Linked DNA regions of Homo sapiens: all the other regions are linked to region 3. The links are contacts of gene promoters, found by promoter capture Hi-C in blood cells and fetal thymus (Javierre and others, 2016). All regions are on one chromosome and are shown on one strand. Each heading gives the region's core, a stretch centred on a gene start or on the middle of the fragment in contact. The rest is flanking DNA. Distances are from core to core; before and after follow the strand shown.

Region 1 (4,391 bases), core at 1,390-3,889, 530 kb before region 3:
TCCTGCTTCTCTTTTCCCAGACCCCAAAGTCTTCCCTCAGCCTGCTCTGGCGTCCCCCACCCCAAGTTCCCTGCTCAAACTCCTCACTACCAGCCTTTATCCCCTGAAGTTTGAAAATCCCCTGGCTAGCAGCAACACCTCAGTCCAAACAGGGGCCCTTAGGGGTGCCTGTTCCACCCTCCGTCCTCCAGCCTCCCAGCCCTAATCAGAGGGCAGCCCGCCTGCTCGCCAGAGACCTCTGAGAATGGAAGAAAAAAGGCAAGACAGAAACTAAACTGGGATCTAATTGCCTCCCAAGTATTCCAAATGGGCTCTGTACTCCAGAATTAAGAAGCCCCCACTCCATCTCCTACCGCATTTGGGGGTATATGTCCTCTGAGATTTTCTCCAGGTTCATTTTCTTGCTTCTCGGTCCTCTTTTTCACTCCCACCCCACTATGCCCCACTGCCTTCTGTAGCCCGAGGGACCACAAAGAGTTGAGGAGGCTTGGGGAAGGGAGGGGTCTGCTGTTGTCTCTGGAACACTCCTCCACTCCCAGCTCAGCTCCAGGCCCGCTTCTCCTGCAGCCGGCCCGAGGCTGCCTGGGTGCCTTCTGGACTCTCGTGTTATTCCTAGAGGCAAAGCTGCGCAGTCCCAAAAGCGATCAGGTTCTCCTCTTCTCTCAGTTTTACAATGACCTTCTCTAACCCAATGATAGTAACAGCTAGGACAGCAGAGGTTTTGAGGTACATTCTTGGCTTTTTTTTTATTTGGGGGAGTGATAGAAAAAAAAACCCCAAAGGTACTGGTTTCTTTAAGCCTCTGGAAGCCTCCCTGGCCTGAGTCCCTGACCCACCAAGCTCAAAGTTACATGGGGTCTGACCCTGTAGGTCTCTAACCAGAGTGTAGAGATCTCAGGACAGACTTTTTGCAGCCACATGCTCAGGCACCCCTAACAGGTCTCTTTGGGGTTCCAGGCTGGCTTGAGCCCCAAGTCTAGGTCTGACTTGGATGTTTTATTTTCTTGATACTACTAATAAACACAGAAAAATACTAATAAACACAGAATAATAGCTAATAAACACAGAAAAATAGCTCCCACCCTCCATCCCCATGTCCCCCAACCCGTGCTTCCCCCCAGCTGTCAACTTTCTAGGTGGGAGGTGGGGTCCTCAGGACATTACATTCTGAGGCTCTGCAAGTGGCTTCTGTTGCTGGAGGGCAGGAAGGCCATAGGTACCCCCAGTTTATCAGGGCCCCTGGAAACCGGCTGCTCCAAATCACCTGGCCTGACTTAGCCTTGCCTGGAAGAAGTAGGGGCTGGAGGCCAGGGGCCACTCCCTATCTCATCCCAAAGTAGAGCCTGTGAGTGGGGAGAGAGAGGGAATGAGGGAAGCTTTGCCAGACACCTCCAACCTATGCTGGAGGGAACACAAAAGCTGGAAATCAACTCTCACCTTTGTTGTCCCCAGTCCCGTTCCCTCTTCTGGTGCATCCAGATGGGAGAAGGCAAAAGCCAAGTATTCTAACCAGGAAATCACAGGGTAGTGCCTTACATGAAGTTAAGAGGACCAGTTTTCCAAGCTGCCTTTAGAGAAAAGAGTCAGCTTTCTATTTCATCCCCTAGCTCCGAGTCAGCAGTTAGGCAGAGTTGCAAACACTCCTGCTTTGGGAAATGTCCTGGTGCTCTTTTTGTCTTTTCCTTCCTCCCGGAATGACTATTCCCCACCCCCTGTCCCAAATCTGCAGACACCTACATTTTTGGCTCCTGTCTTCCTCCTACAGGCCTCCTCCTTGCCTTTTCCTGCCCTGCTCAAACACACCCTAAGAAAACTTTAGCTTTTGTGGCCTTCCTCACTTGTGCCAAGAGTCATAAATCTTGCAGGGCAGAGAGAAACAAACAGGGTTGTTCTGAATAATAATAATAACCATCTTCCATCTCTTCTGCCAGTGCATTTAAAATTAAGCGACCCTGCTAGTTCTTCTCTTCTTAGAAGTACAAATGTCCTTATCACCTCTTAGCCCCTTCTGCCTATTCGGAGGTGAGAATCATAACAGAAACTTATCCATGAAGTTCTTTCAGCCCGTCTACTGCCAGCCAGTCTGGAGCTCAAACTAAAACACAGAGTCCTCCTTTTGTCACCCTTTTCTCAACCCTCCTCCCCCTGCAAGATGTTCAGAGTTTTTAAAATCATCACTCACCGCTTGTTGTCTGTTCTCAAAAAGAAAAAGGGGGAGGGGTGTTTTTTTTTTTTTTTTTTTTTTAAGTTCTGGTCTTTCCCTCTCCCTTGGTTAGAGACTGGGCCTGGAGACTGGAGGGAGATTTGGGAGGAATAGAGAGGGTGTAGTGGAGGGAAGAAGCCGGGGCTGGAGACTCAGAAGGAGGGAGCCAGAGTGTGAGGGTTGGAGACCCAGAACTACTTTCTAAAAAAGTCCTGGTGTTCCAATTGCGAATGAGTGCAGAGGGGCACCCGGCACCCTCACCCCCGGGCCAGGCCTGCCTTTGACTCAGCCTCCAAATACTACTTCTCATATTAGCATAATAGTTCACTAGTGGGGTATGGGGGGAGCTGTGAACTTCACCGCCCTTCCTTGCCTTTGCTCACCTCTTCCTCCCTGTCCCTCCAATCTAGATTTAAATTTTTACCTGTTCTTTAAGGAAAAAAAAAAAACCCTCCTTCTTTTCTTCTTACTCTTTTTTTGGGGAGGCGGGTATTTTAAAATTTCCCCCCTTCCCCATCACCACCATCACCTTCCCTCCTTATCAGGCATCTAAGCTTGCTAAAGGGGGAGAGGTGGGGGGGTGTGAGCTTGTGTGTGAGTGAGTGTGTGTGTGTGTCTGTGTGGTTTTTTTTCCCTGTGCAAAAGCAGAGGCCATTGTTACGGAGAGTAGGGCGTACCAGTCTTATAGGGCAACCACACTGTGGCGGCTTAGCCCTGCTGGAGCCCGGAGCTGGATTCTGGCGAGCTGAGCCGCCCGGCACCTTTCGGTCTTCTATTTTTTTTCCCGCTCCCCCACCCCCTCCCTCCTGCGCACCCCTGCTCCTAAGCCGAGTGAATTGAAGCGGACGCCGCGCGGCTCCTCTGGCCGGTCTGCCCCTCGGGCTCCCCAGCCGGGGTGGCTTTGCGGGGCGGGGGCGGGGGGGCGGGGGGCGACGCAGCTTTAAACAGTGGTCTTTTTTTCCTTTGCCTTCAAGGAGGGGAGATTTGTCGCCTGCCGCTCGCTCTGGGGCTCGATGTGAATATATATTATGTCTGCCTGTTCTCCCCTCGTCGGTGGCTAAGGTAAGCTGGACTGAAATAGGCTATCAGTTTGTGAATGGCGGAGAGTATGTCTCAATGATTTATGGCCCATATGACTCCAATCTCGGTTCAAGAAGAGTTCACAAGCTTTAAGCTTCCTTCCACGCAGCGACTCTCTCTCTCCCTCCCTCCCTCCCTCCCTCCCTCCCTCTCTCTCTCTCTCTCTCTCTCTCTCTCCCTCTCTCTCTCCCCTCTCTCTTCCTGCTTCTCTCCTCTTTTCTCCTCTCTCTCTTTTCTTTCAGCAGCCAGATCCAGGGCTGAATTTTCTCCGCGGCTGCTAAGAAAGTCTCAACCTTTCTCTGTCTTCCTTTCTTGTTATTTTTCTTTCTCCCATTAATTTTTTTAAGTCCTGGAAGATGGCCTATCCCCTCTCTCGGGGCTTCCCCAGCTATTGTTACTCTCCTGGCTCTCCCTGGGGTGTGCTTGGCAAGGTGGGGTTCTTGCGGGGGGCTCATCTCCCTTCTCCAGCGAGACCCTGGGGGGAAGCCGGCAGCCACCGTCTCCCTCCCTCCCTCCCGAGGAGCCATATGGAACCTGAATTTTTCCAACATGGAGGCAAGGGAAATAGATCTGTTTGGCTTGGTAGAGTTGTTCCCCACCCCCTCTTGTTCTGGATCCCAGATCTTGGGTCCCCTTAGCACCTTTCTCTCTTCCCACTGTCCCGTCCGCCAGGCCTCGGCGCCCTCCAACCCGGAGCCCTGCTGAGCAAAGTCCCGAAGCGGAGTTTCTAAGGCGCCTTTTAATTCGGTTACCTCCAGCTCCCAAAACTTGCTGCCGCCCGCGGGGCTCGGCCCTCGGCCGGCTGGTGTGCTGGGAACCTGCCTCCGATAACCGTTTTGGTGTCCTGATCGCTTGCTCTTCTTCGCCTCCTTGGGCCATCGTAGGTGGCTGGTAGCTTGTCGCCAGTCGCCGCGGCAGCAGCGACCGGCTGAGGCAGCCTGGCAGCAGCAGCCAGGGACTACCCGGGTGCACAAACCTTCCCAGCCCTGTCTGCACCACCGGCGGAGTCTCCATTCTTTCCTATCGCGTCTCTGGCTCCTTCGCTTTCCACACTCGCCTGGCCTCCGTCCCGCGATGGTTTGGGGTTTATTGCAAGGGGAGCGGCAGG
Region 2 (4,714 bases), core at 1,033-3,532, 790 kb before region 3:
ATCACGTGGTCAGGAGTTTGAGACCAGCCTGGCCAACATGGTGAAACCCGTCTCTACTAAAAATACAAAAATTAGCCGGGCATGGTGGCGGGTGTCTGTAATTCCAGCTACTTGGGAGGCTGAGGCAGGAGAATTGCTTGAACCCAGGAGGCAGAGATTGCAGTGAGCTGAGATCGCGCCACTGCACTCCAGCCTGGGCGACAGAGCAAGACTCCGTCTGAAAAAAAAAATATATTTTGACTGGCACAGGAAGAAAGGGCTTCTAGGAGGGACCTTGGTTCAGGGAGCAGAAGCAGGATCTCTGTTTGTTTCATTAACTACTTAAAGGAAGAACTCCAAACTGAGAAAAAACGCTGTGTGTGAAGTGCAGAGCAAACAACCTTACGGGGATTTTACTGTTGTTTTACTATTTATCTATTTAGTCAGGTGGGTGCCTTAGGAACAAAACAGCAGTGAAAACAACAGGGTTGGACCTGGATTTTTCCACACACTCTTGCCTCTGACAGCTTCTAGGACATGGTCCAAATTTTTTGACAATTAGGACCCTCCATCATTCTGCTTCAGTTTTTCATGCCCAGGCCGAGTAAGTCCCTCAGTGTTTACCTTGTGGATTTGTCTGTTTAGGGTTTGCCAGGCACAAATCACTGATATTCTCTGCTTTCCTGGCTGTCACTCGGGTTGAAGCTTGCTTTGCTCTACAGTGAGGGCAGCTCCACTGTTCACCGTGTTCACCCTGTGTTTGCTCCTGACATCAGCCCTGAAAGGACAGTAGTGCCAGGCTCTGGCCTATAAGCTCCCGTTGCAACATCTCATAAATAACCAGTTGTCAGGGATTTTAGTGGAAACTCTCTGAAAGCCGTAAATCTTTGCTGCTCTCTCCTGTATCCTCTCCCTCATTTCCATCACAATATCACTCCTGAGGGACCGGAGACCAAACAGGAGCTAGGCAGAGCAGATTGGTAGGACGCTGGGGAAAGACAACAGTGGGATGGGGGAGGGGACCAGGCTGGGACAGTTGGTCTTAGGGAAGCATCTGCTGGGTGACCAGTTAATGATGGTCACTTGGCCCCTTAGGGCCTGTCGGGGAGGGGCACCACAGCACGGGGCCACCTGCGGGGGGAAAAGGGAAGAGTGCTGACTGGATGGCAGAGAGGTTTCTGAAAGAGCAGCAGATGGGCCACTGGTTCCACTTTGGGCCTTCTGTTCACTCCGGGGTGACTGTAAGCACCACGTAGTAGGCTTCCAGGGTCGGCTTGAGGCTAAGCTACACCCTTGCCTCTGGTGTTCTGCCTGTGCACATCAGCAGGTGAAGGGGATCTGGGTTGGGAGGAACTTAGGTTACCAACTCAGGCCCAAATGAACAATGTTTATTTATTTATTTGAGACAGAGTTTCCCTCTGTTGCCCAGGCTGGAGTGCAGTGGCGCGATCTCAGCTTAATGCAACCTCTGCCTCCTGTGTTCAAGCGATCCTCCCGCCTCAGCCTCCCGATAGCTGGGACCACAGGTACGCGCACCGCGCTCGGTTAATTTTTGTATTTTTAGTAGAGAGGAGGTTTCGCCATGTTGTCCAGCTGGTGTTGAACTTCTGAGCTCAAGCGATCCACCCACCTAGGCCTCCCAAAGTGCTGGGATTACAGGCGTGAGCCACCGCGCCCGACCATCTTCAATGATTTGAATCCAGTCACTACTACAGATTCTCCACCTGAGACCAAATGGTTGCTCTGAGAAGCCCAGACCCCTAACCCCTTAAGTCTCACTGACTCTTCAGTCGGTCTAGGCGGCCCTCTCTTACTGATCAGTTCACTGGAGGCCATGACCCCCACACTCTGGAGGTGAGGTCAGGGTTCAATACGCCTGAGCGGTCATCACAGGTTTGCAACACCCATTTTCCTGTTGAAGAAGCTAAGCCTCACAGAGGTAACGTGGCCTGCCCAAGGTGACACAGGCACTAATATGCCTGAGATGCTGATTTAAGTCTCCAACCAGTGTTTTCCCACAGTGCCTCCTGCTTCAGGTTTGCCCTCTCCCGAAGGCCTAAATTCAAGGTGCCCCCCTCCCTCACCGCAGCCCCGCGCAGCTGGACCTCTGGAGCCAGACGTTCTGGCCGCGCCCGCGCACGGCGCCCGACGGCACCGGCGCGGATGGGCTGGGACTGCGGCTTGGCTCGCTGGGCAAGGGTAGGGCTGCGGGAGCGAGCGGCGGTCCAGCCCCTGGCGCCCGGGTGCGCGGTGCGCGCGTCCTCCGCGTCTCCCGGGACAACCGTGGGCGCGCCCCTCCCCTAGCGCCTGGGCGGTTAATTGGATTCGGGAGGGAGGGGGCATGGCAGCTACTGCAGGGGCCAATCGAAGGCCTAGAAGGCCCCGTATGCAAATATGAGGGCCGGGCGGACCCAAAGTTAGGGCGAGCGCGGGTTGGGGTTGGGGCTGTCTGGCAGCCAATGGGAGCGTTACTCCTTCATCCTTCGAGGAGGGGGCCGGCAGGTGTGGTTGCAAGCTGGACTAGCAGCCCAGCGGGGCGAGACGGGGGAGTAGGAATTGCGGGTAAGAGCGCCCCAAAGCCCGGTGCTGGCTCCAGACCGCAGCCTCCTGGTGCCTGTCCCCTGAAAACCTGGCTAGACACGTCTCCTTAAACCCACACGGGACCCAGGTCCCCAGGGTAGCCCGCTGCCCTCCCTGGTGGCGTTCCATGGCGCCAGGCACTCACCCTCACGGTCCCTCGGCTCCGGGACTCCCCCCTTCTCAGTCCCTCTTATTAACGTTCATTTCCCGCCCTCCCCCGATTTCCTAAACCACAGTCCACCAAGGAGCTGTCGCTTAGACACCAGCGATCCCTGGGACTCACACAACTCTCTTCATCCCCTTCATCCCCATCATTGGGTCATTTTCTTCATCACTGTTCTTCCTTTGTCTGGAGAAACCTTCCAGCAAGACACTTCCCATTTTTCATGGCCGGCATAGTCCTCTGCTGATGCCCCTACCGCCTTCCAGCCTGGTGTTCTTTCATTTCCAGTTGTTATTTCTCACCCCTCCTGAAAAAATACTCTTCTGGCTTTGCAGAAAGTTCTCCTTTGGGATTTGAACTCTAGGAAAAATATCACATTGGGGGATGAAGTGGGAAGGGAGCTAACGTTTTGAAAGCACCAGTATGTGCGAGGCACTCCAAAAAAATTTAATATTTATGCCAATCTTATTATTATATTTTCTTTTTTGTTTGTTTTAAGAGATGGAGGTGGGGGTGGGGGGGCTCACTTTTTTGCCCAGGCTGGTCTCGAACTCCTGAGCTCAAGTGATCCTCCCACTTGGGCTTCCCAAAGTGCTGGAATTACAGGCATGAGTCACCACGCCTGGTTTATATTTTCATTTTACAATATAGCCTTTATTTTGAACCAAGCACTGCTTTAAGGGTATTAGAAATATTAACTCATTTAATCTTTAAAACAGCTCCATAAAATGAATATTATTATCATCCCCATTTTACTTATACAGAAGCTGAGGTACAGAGAGGCTAAGTTACTCACCCATGGTCACACATTCTAGAAACTAGTAGAGCTGGGATTTGGATCCAGATCCATCTGTCTTTGTTAGCAATGCCCTGAATATTGTGGAGAAAATGACTAGGCATGAGCCTGATCTGAATATTGCATCTTCCAATCTTGCAGAATTTCTCAGTTTCTAGAAGAATAAAAGATGGCATCTAAGTCAGCAAGATTCTTATTGTTCCCACTACAGGTGACTTGTCATTCTCAACACTTCTTATTGGCAAAGCCCTTGAGCAATTGGGTGCCCCATCCCTCCCTTGTTAGTTCACATTTTGCTTAGGACCCTTTCAGGCCCCGGGCTGAAATTCAAAGTGTGACTAAAACGAAAAGTCAAAAGACCACAAAAAACATCTTATTTTATCCTGTCTGAATCAAAGCTCAAAGCACTTTTCTAGATGTGAAGCTTTTATCCTCCTAGTGGTCCTGTAATTATAGAGAAGATAGGGAGTGGGAGAGGAAATAATTGCTTGGATTTTTATGACATACTGAGTTGGAGGGGCAAAGCTGAAAGCAAGATCCAGAGGTCTTACCTCCACATCTTTTCTTCCCCCATCCAATTTGACATTTTCCAAGAACCACTGGAGGCCTTCAGAGGGATGCTTCCAGTAGGGAAATGAGGACCAAAAGATGAAAAGGAGGTACGTGAAGGAAAACCTATTATCTGGTGAAAGAGAGGGACTTCACAGACAGACACAATAGGCGAAACTTTCAGTGCTCTATATATTCCTATAGACTAGAAAAAAAGTCCAGGTGATGAAGGTCAGAGATGAAAAAACTTGGCTACAACTTGAAATATGTTCTCCCAGGGTTCTCTTAGTCAACCACCAAATTATTGTTTTCTATCATTTATAGGATGCCCGTGTTCATTCAGTTTTGCAAAAGAAATCACTAAACTGCTGGGCGCGGTGGCTCATGCTTGTAATCCCAGCACTTTGGGAGGCTGAGGTGGGCTGATAACCTGAGGTTGGGAGTTTGAGACCAGCCTGACCAACATGGAGAAACCCCATCTCTACTAAAAATACAAAATTAGCCAGGCGTGGTGGTGCATGCCTGTAGTCCCAGCTCCCGGGAAGCTAAGGCGGGAGAATCACTTGAATCCAGGAGGCAGAGGTTGCGGTGAGCTGAGATCGTGCCATTGCACTCCAGCCTGGGCAACAGGCTGGAGTTTGAAAGAA
Region 3 (4,236 bases), core at 1,549-4,048:
CTAGTGCTGGTCTTTCCAAGGGTTCTCCAGAAAGGGGAGAAGGAAATAGGAGAGTCACAGAGTCATACATGAGGAGGAGGGGCTAGGCTAGGACCAGGCAAGGTGGCCAGGACTGAAAGCTCCCTCCACTTCTAGGTGAGATTGCATTTTTTGGGGGTATGACCATCGTCTACAAGAACAGCATTGACCTCTTCCTATACGTGGTGGGCTCATCCTACGAGAATGAGGTGAATTCAGGAGGTTGGGGCAGTAAGAAGGGTCTGTCTATGGGGAAATGTTGTTATTTGGAATCTGGGCTTGAGGCTGGGACCTGGAGGCTCACCATTGGACCCCTTCTTTTAGGCTCCATGGGGTAGAGGAGGGCAGCCAGAAGGGTTCTTTCTGGGACAATGTGTATCTTCGATGCCCCTTAGTTTCCTTGGGAACCAGGAATGAAGTAATCACTTCATCTTCAAGGGAGGCTTTGTCCTTCTTAAACATAACTAGAGAAGGATACACTCAATGTCTCCCAGTGGAGAACTCCAGTTTCCCAGCCCAGACACATGGAAGTTCCCTCTAATGTCACACCGCAGTCAGTCTCCAGCCCAGGCCTCTGAAACTCTCCATTGCTGCCCGCACAGGTGGGCTCCAAGTGCTTCTTTTGACCTTCTCAATCTCAAACTCTCCTTTTCCTCCTCCCGTATCTGCCCATCCCAGCTGATGCTCATGTCTGTTCTCACCTGCCTGTTTGAGTCTCTGAACCACATGTTAAGGTGAGTGAGGTTCTCTGCCCTCCGAGGCCCCATCCCCCTGGCCCTGATATGTCACAGGACCCTTCCTCCCTGTTTTTCTCCTGAAGTCCCCACAAGACTAAGATAATCCAAAAAGAAAAGTTCACAGTCGACACAATGAACGAAAGTAGGGCTGTGCTATAGCATCTAACCTAGTTGTGAAACGCATCTGGGGTCCTGTGGTGGGTGCCAGGGTGTCAAGGCCCAAAGTATGGGAGGTTGGACAAGGTAGGGTGTAAGGAAGCAGAACTGCCCTTTGCTCAGAAATGCCTTGCATGGGCTCTGTGCTCACTGCCCTTCACATTCTCCTTCCCAGTCCTTGTTTGGTGAGGGGTGAATGAGGCAGTCTTTGGAGAGTGGGGTCAGCCTCACCTAGGCAGGGACTCAGTTCCTCCCAGCCACAGGGAGGCTCAGGAGCTTGTGTCCACCTTCAGGAAGAACGTGGAGAAGCGCTGGTTGCTGGAGAACATGGACGGAGCCTTCTTGGTGCTGGACGAGATTGTGGATGGCGGGTGAGGAGGGGACAGTCAGGGACACTCACAGCAGGAGTGCCTTTGATAATCATCAGCCCCAGATGGCACCCAGCATGGCTAGAACTCTGACCAACTTCTCACTCCCTTCCCCCAGCATATTCCCAGGGATCCCATTCCCCTAGCCCTTCCCCTTACTAGCGCCCCACTCATGAAGATAGAAGTTGATTTCAATGTTAGCCAAAGTCAAGCCAAACAAGAGACTAACCTGATGTCAAACTATGGGAGACTGTTGAATAGGCAGGGTTTGGGGAAAATCCAGTTTGGTCTCCAATGCCCAGGGGAAGCACTGGCACAGATGCTGGCCCTCTCTGGAAGGACTTCAGACAGTCCCACCAGCCCCACATGTCCTGCTCTTAGGGCTCAATTCCAACACAAGCTAGATGCGTGACCTGGGTCAATTACTGACCCTCCCCGAGGCTTACTTTCTCCATCTTTAGGATGGAGGTAATAAGGGATTGTGGGGATTAAATACATGTGTGAGAAGATACATGTGAAGCTTGTGGTTCTCATTCAATAGATGTTGCCTCCTATTGGTATGCTAGTATATTCTTAGGAAGCTAGGAGCTCTTTTGAGAAAAGTTGGCTTGTGAATTTCCATCAGGGGATCAATATTCAGAGAGAAAAAGAAGTTCTGGCTCTGGGGCAAAGGATAATAAAAATTTCTTTTTTTTTTTTTTTTGAGACAGAGTCTCGCTCTGTCACCCAGGCTGGTGTGCAGTAAGTGGCGTGATCTCGGCTCACTGCAAGCTCCACCTCCCGGGTTCACACCATTCTCCTGCTTCAGCCTCCTGAGTAGCTGGGACTACAGGCACCCACCACCACACCAAGCTAATTTTTTGTATTTTTAGTAGAGACGGGGTTTCACCATGTTAGCCAGGATGGTCTCGATCTCCTGACCTCGTGATCCGCCCACCTCAGCCTCCCAAAGTGCTGGGATTACAGGTGTGAGCCACCATCCCCGGCCAATAGAAATTTCTTGAGCTCCTTAAAAACATACATCCCTCTATCATTACATCATTTTATACATTAGGAAACAGGCTCAAAGTTTCAAGTGACACGCCGGAGGTCTCTCACACAGCTAGGGAGTGGCAGGGCCAAGATCTAAAACCATGTGAATAGTTCCAGAGGCCATGCTGTTTCTATGGCACTGTACTGGACTGCCTGGGGCACTAAGGAATGCCTCCTGCAGATTTCTGGGACCCAAAAGGGAGTGGGGTAACGCCAGGTTTTGGGGAGCCAGAAGCATATACAATTTGGTGAACCCTCTTGAAGGAAAACTTTACACAAACACACACAAAACTATAAATGCAAAACAAGATGCAGGGCTCTGGATGGCTGTGCAAAGGAGGATGCCTGAGGTGTAAGCTTCACAAGCTTCCCGTCTCTGCCTCTGAGGAACTCAGTTTCCTGCCAAGAAAAACTGGGGAAGCGCCAGTCGGGAGGCAACGCCTAAACTGGAGCCTTGGCCTGGGATGCTCTTTCTTTATGGATTACAGGACCCCTGGTTAGGGAGCTTGGGACAGGGGGTGCTCAGCCCAAGGATGGGGACTGGAAGAGGCTCCCAAGAAATGTTTGTCATTTCCAGTGATTTAGTAACAAAGAGAAACAAAGCTTCTGCCTTGGAGGAGTCTCAGTGGGTAAGGAGGTACACTCAGATCCTGTCATCTTTGTCCTGCCGCAGTGACAGGCCCTCACGCCCATGTACCCTGTACATAACCCCAAGGCCTCACGAAGGAGCGCCTGCTCTCTGAGAAAAGCTACAATATTTGGGTCTATCAAAAGGGAATTTTTTTGTTTGTTTCTTTGTGTGTGTGTGTGTGTGTGTGTGTGTGTGTGTGTGTGTGTTTTGAGATGGAGTCTCACTCTGTCGCCCAGGCTGGAGTGCAGTGGCGTGATCTTGGCTCACTGCAACCTCTGCCTCCTGGGTTCAAGCAATTCTCCTGCCTCAGCCTCCCGAGTAGCTGGGATTATAGGCGTGCGCCACCATTACCGGCTAATTTTTTTTGTATTTTCAGTAAAGACGGGGTTTCACCATATTGGCCAGGCTGGTCTCGAACTCTTCACCTTGTGATCCTCCCACCTTAGCCTCCCAAAGTGCTAGGATTGCAGGCGTGAGCCACTGTGCCTGGCCTAAAAGGGAAGATTTAAAAAAAAAATTTTTTTTTTTTAGACAGAGTCTCACTGTGATGCCCAGGCTGGAGTGCAGTGGCGCAATCTTGGCTCACTGCAACCTCTGCCTCCCGGGTTGAAGCGATTCTCCTGCCTCACCCTCCCAATTAGCTGGAATTACAATGTGTGCCACCATGCCTGGCTGATTTTTGTACTTTTACTAGAGACAGGGTTTCGCCATGTTGGCCAGGCTGGTCTGGAACTCCTGACCTCAGGTGATCCACCCGCCTCGGCCTCCCAAAGTGCTGGGATTACAGGCATGAGCCACCGTGCCCAGCCTTAAAAAAAAAAAAAAAGGGAGGAAGTAGGGGAGAAGGTAGATGCTGATTTTTGGAGTTTCATTTCTTTTATGCAGGGCATGACCCCATGCCATAAAATAACAGTGCAACAAGATAAGAACCCCCAGGGCCTCTCTTCCTAACTCTTTTCACAGGGAATCCAATCCTATACCCAGAAAGTGAAGTGAACTTTCAAGAGCTCTGAGTTTTGAGAGTCCCTGCTTTTGACAACCTGATCATCCTAGACCAGACTGTTCTTATCCAGTTTCAAAGATTTTGCCCAGGGATGACAAAGCATGTGGACCACTGGGTTGAAGCATCAAAGAATCAGAGCTGAGGGCTCTCCATGCTGAGGGAGAGTTCTGACTTGAGGGCTATCAGTGGGAAGGGACCTGGAAGGTGGAGATGTTGCAGGATGCCTTCGGAGAGGGAAGAGGCTTGGCAAGGAGAAGGGGCGGAGGGGAGGATTGTGCCACTGATTTGCCT

Evidence for each region. Contacts are between HindIII fragments. The CHiCAGO score rates a contact against its expected background, and 5 or more counts as called.
Region 1: the fragment with the promoter of HOXB-AS2 here is called in contact with a fragment that was not itself captured in region 3 in 1 of 17 cell types (naive CD4 T cells); the score reaches 5.8 in naive CD4 T cells.
Region 2: the fragment with the promoter of TTLL6 here is called in contact with a fragment that was not itself captured in region 3 in 1 of 17 cell types (neutrophils); the score reaches 5.2 in neutrophils.

Annotation. Positions count from the first base shown.
Region 1 is chr17:48,554,405-48,558,795 of GRCh38, reverse strand. It overlaps HOXB-AS2 (HOXB cluster antisense RNA 2), which reads right to left and starts at 2,639. Exons shown (of 2, transcript NR_046610.1): 1 at 1,438-2,639. It overlaps HOXB3 (homeobox B3), which reads left to right. Exons shown (of 5, transcript NM_001384749.1): 3 at 3,178-3,265. The HindIII fragment of the contact is 1,381 bases long and covers 1,379-2,759 here.
Region 2 is chr17:48,814,797-48,819,510 of GRCh38, reverse strand. It overlaps TTLL6 (tubulin tyrosine ligase like 6), which reads left to right and starts at 2,282. Exons shown (of 16, transcript NM_001130918.3): 1 at 2,282-2,541. The coding sequence starts at 2,439. LOC105371813 (a long non-coding RNA gene) reads right to left here. Exons shown (of 4, transcript XR_001752926.1): 3 at 3,519-3,672; 4 at 2,553-3,082. RefSeq lists silencers at 2,087-2,436, 2,527-2,576. The HindIII fragment of the contact is 3,258 bases long and covers 687-3,944 here.
Region 3 is chr17:48,029,202-48,033,437 of GRCh38, reverse strand. COPZ2 (coat protein complex I subunit zeta 2) reads left to right here. Exons shown (of 9, transcript NM_016429.4): 4 at 136-227; 5 at 697-752; 6 at 1,205-1,282. It overlaps MIR10226 (microRNA 10226), which reads right to left and starts at 556; the gene lies at 487-556. The HindIII fragment of the contact is 237 bases long and covers 2,680-2,916 here.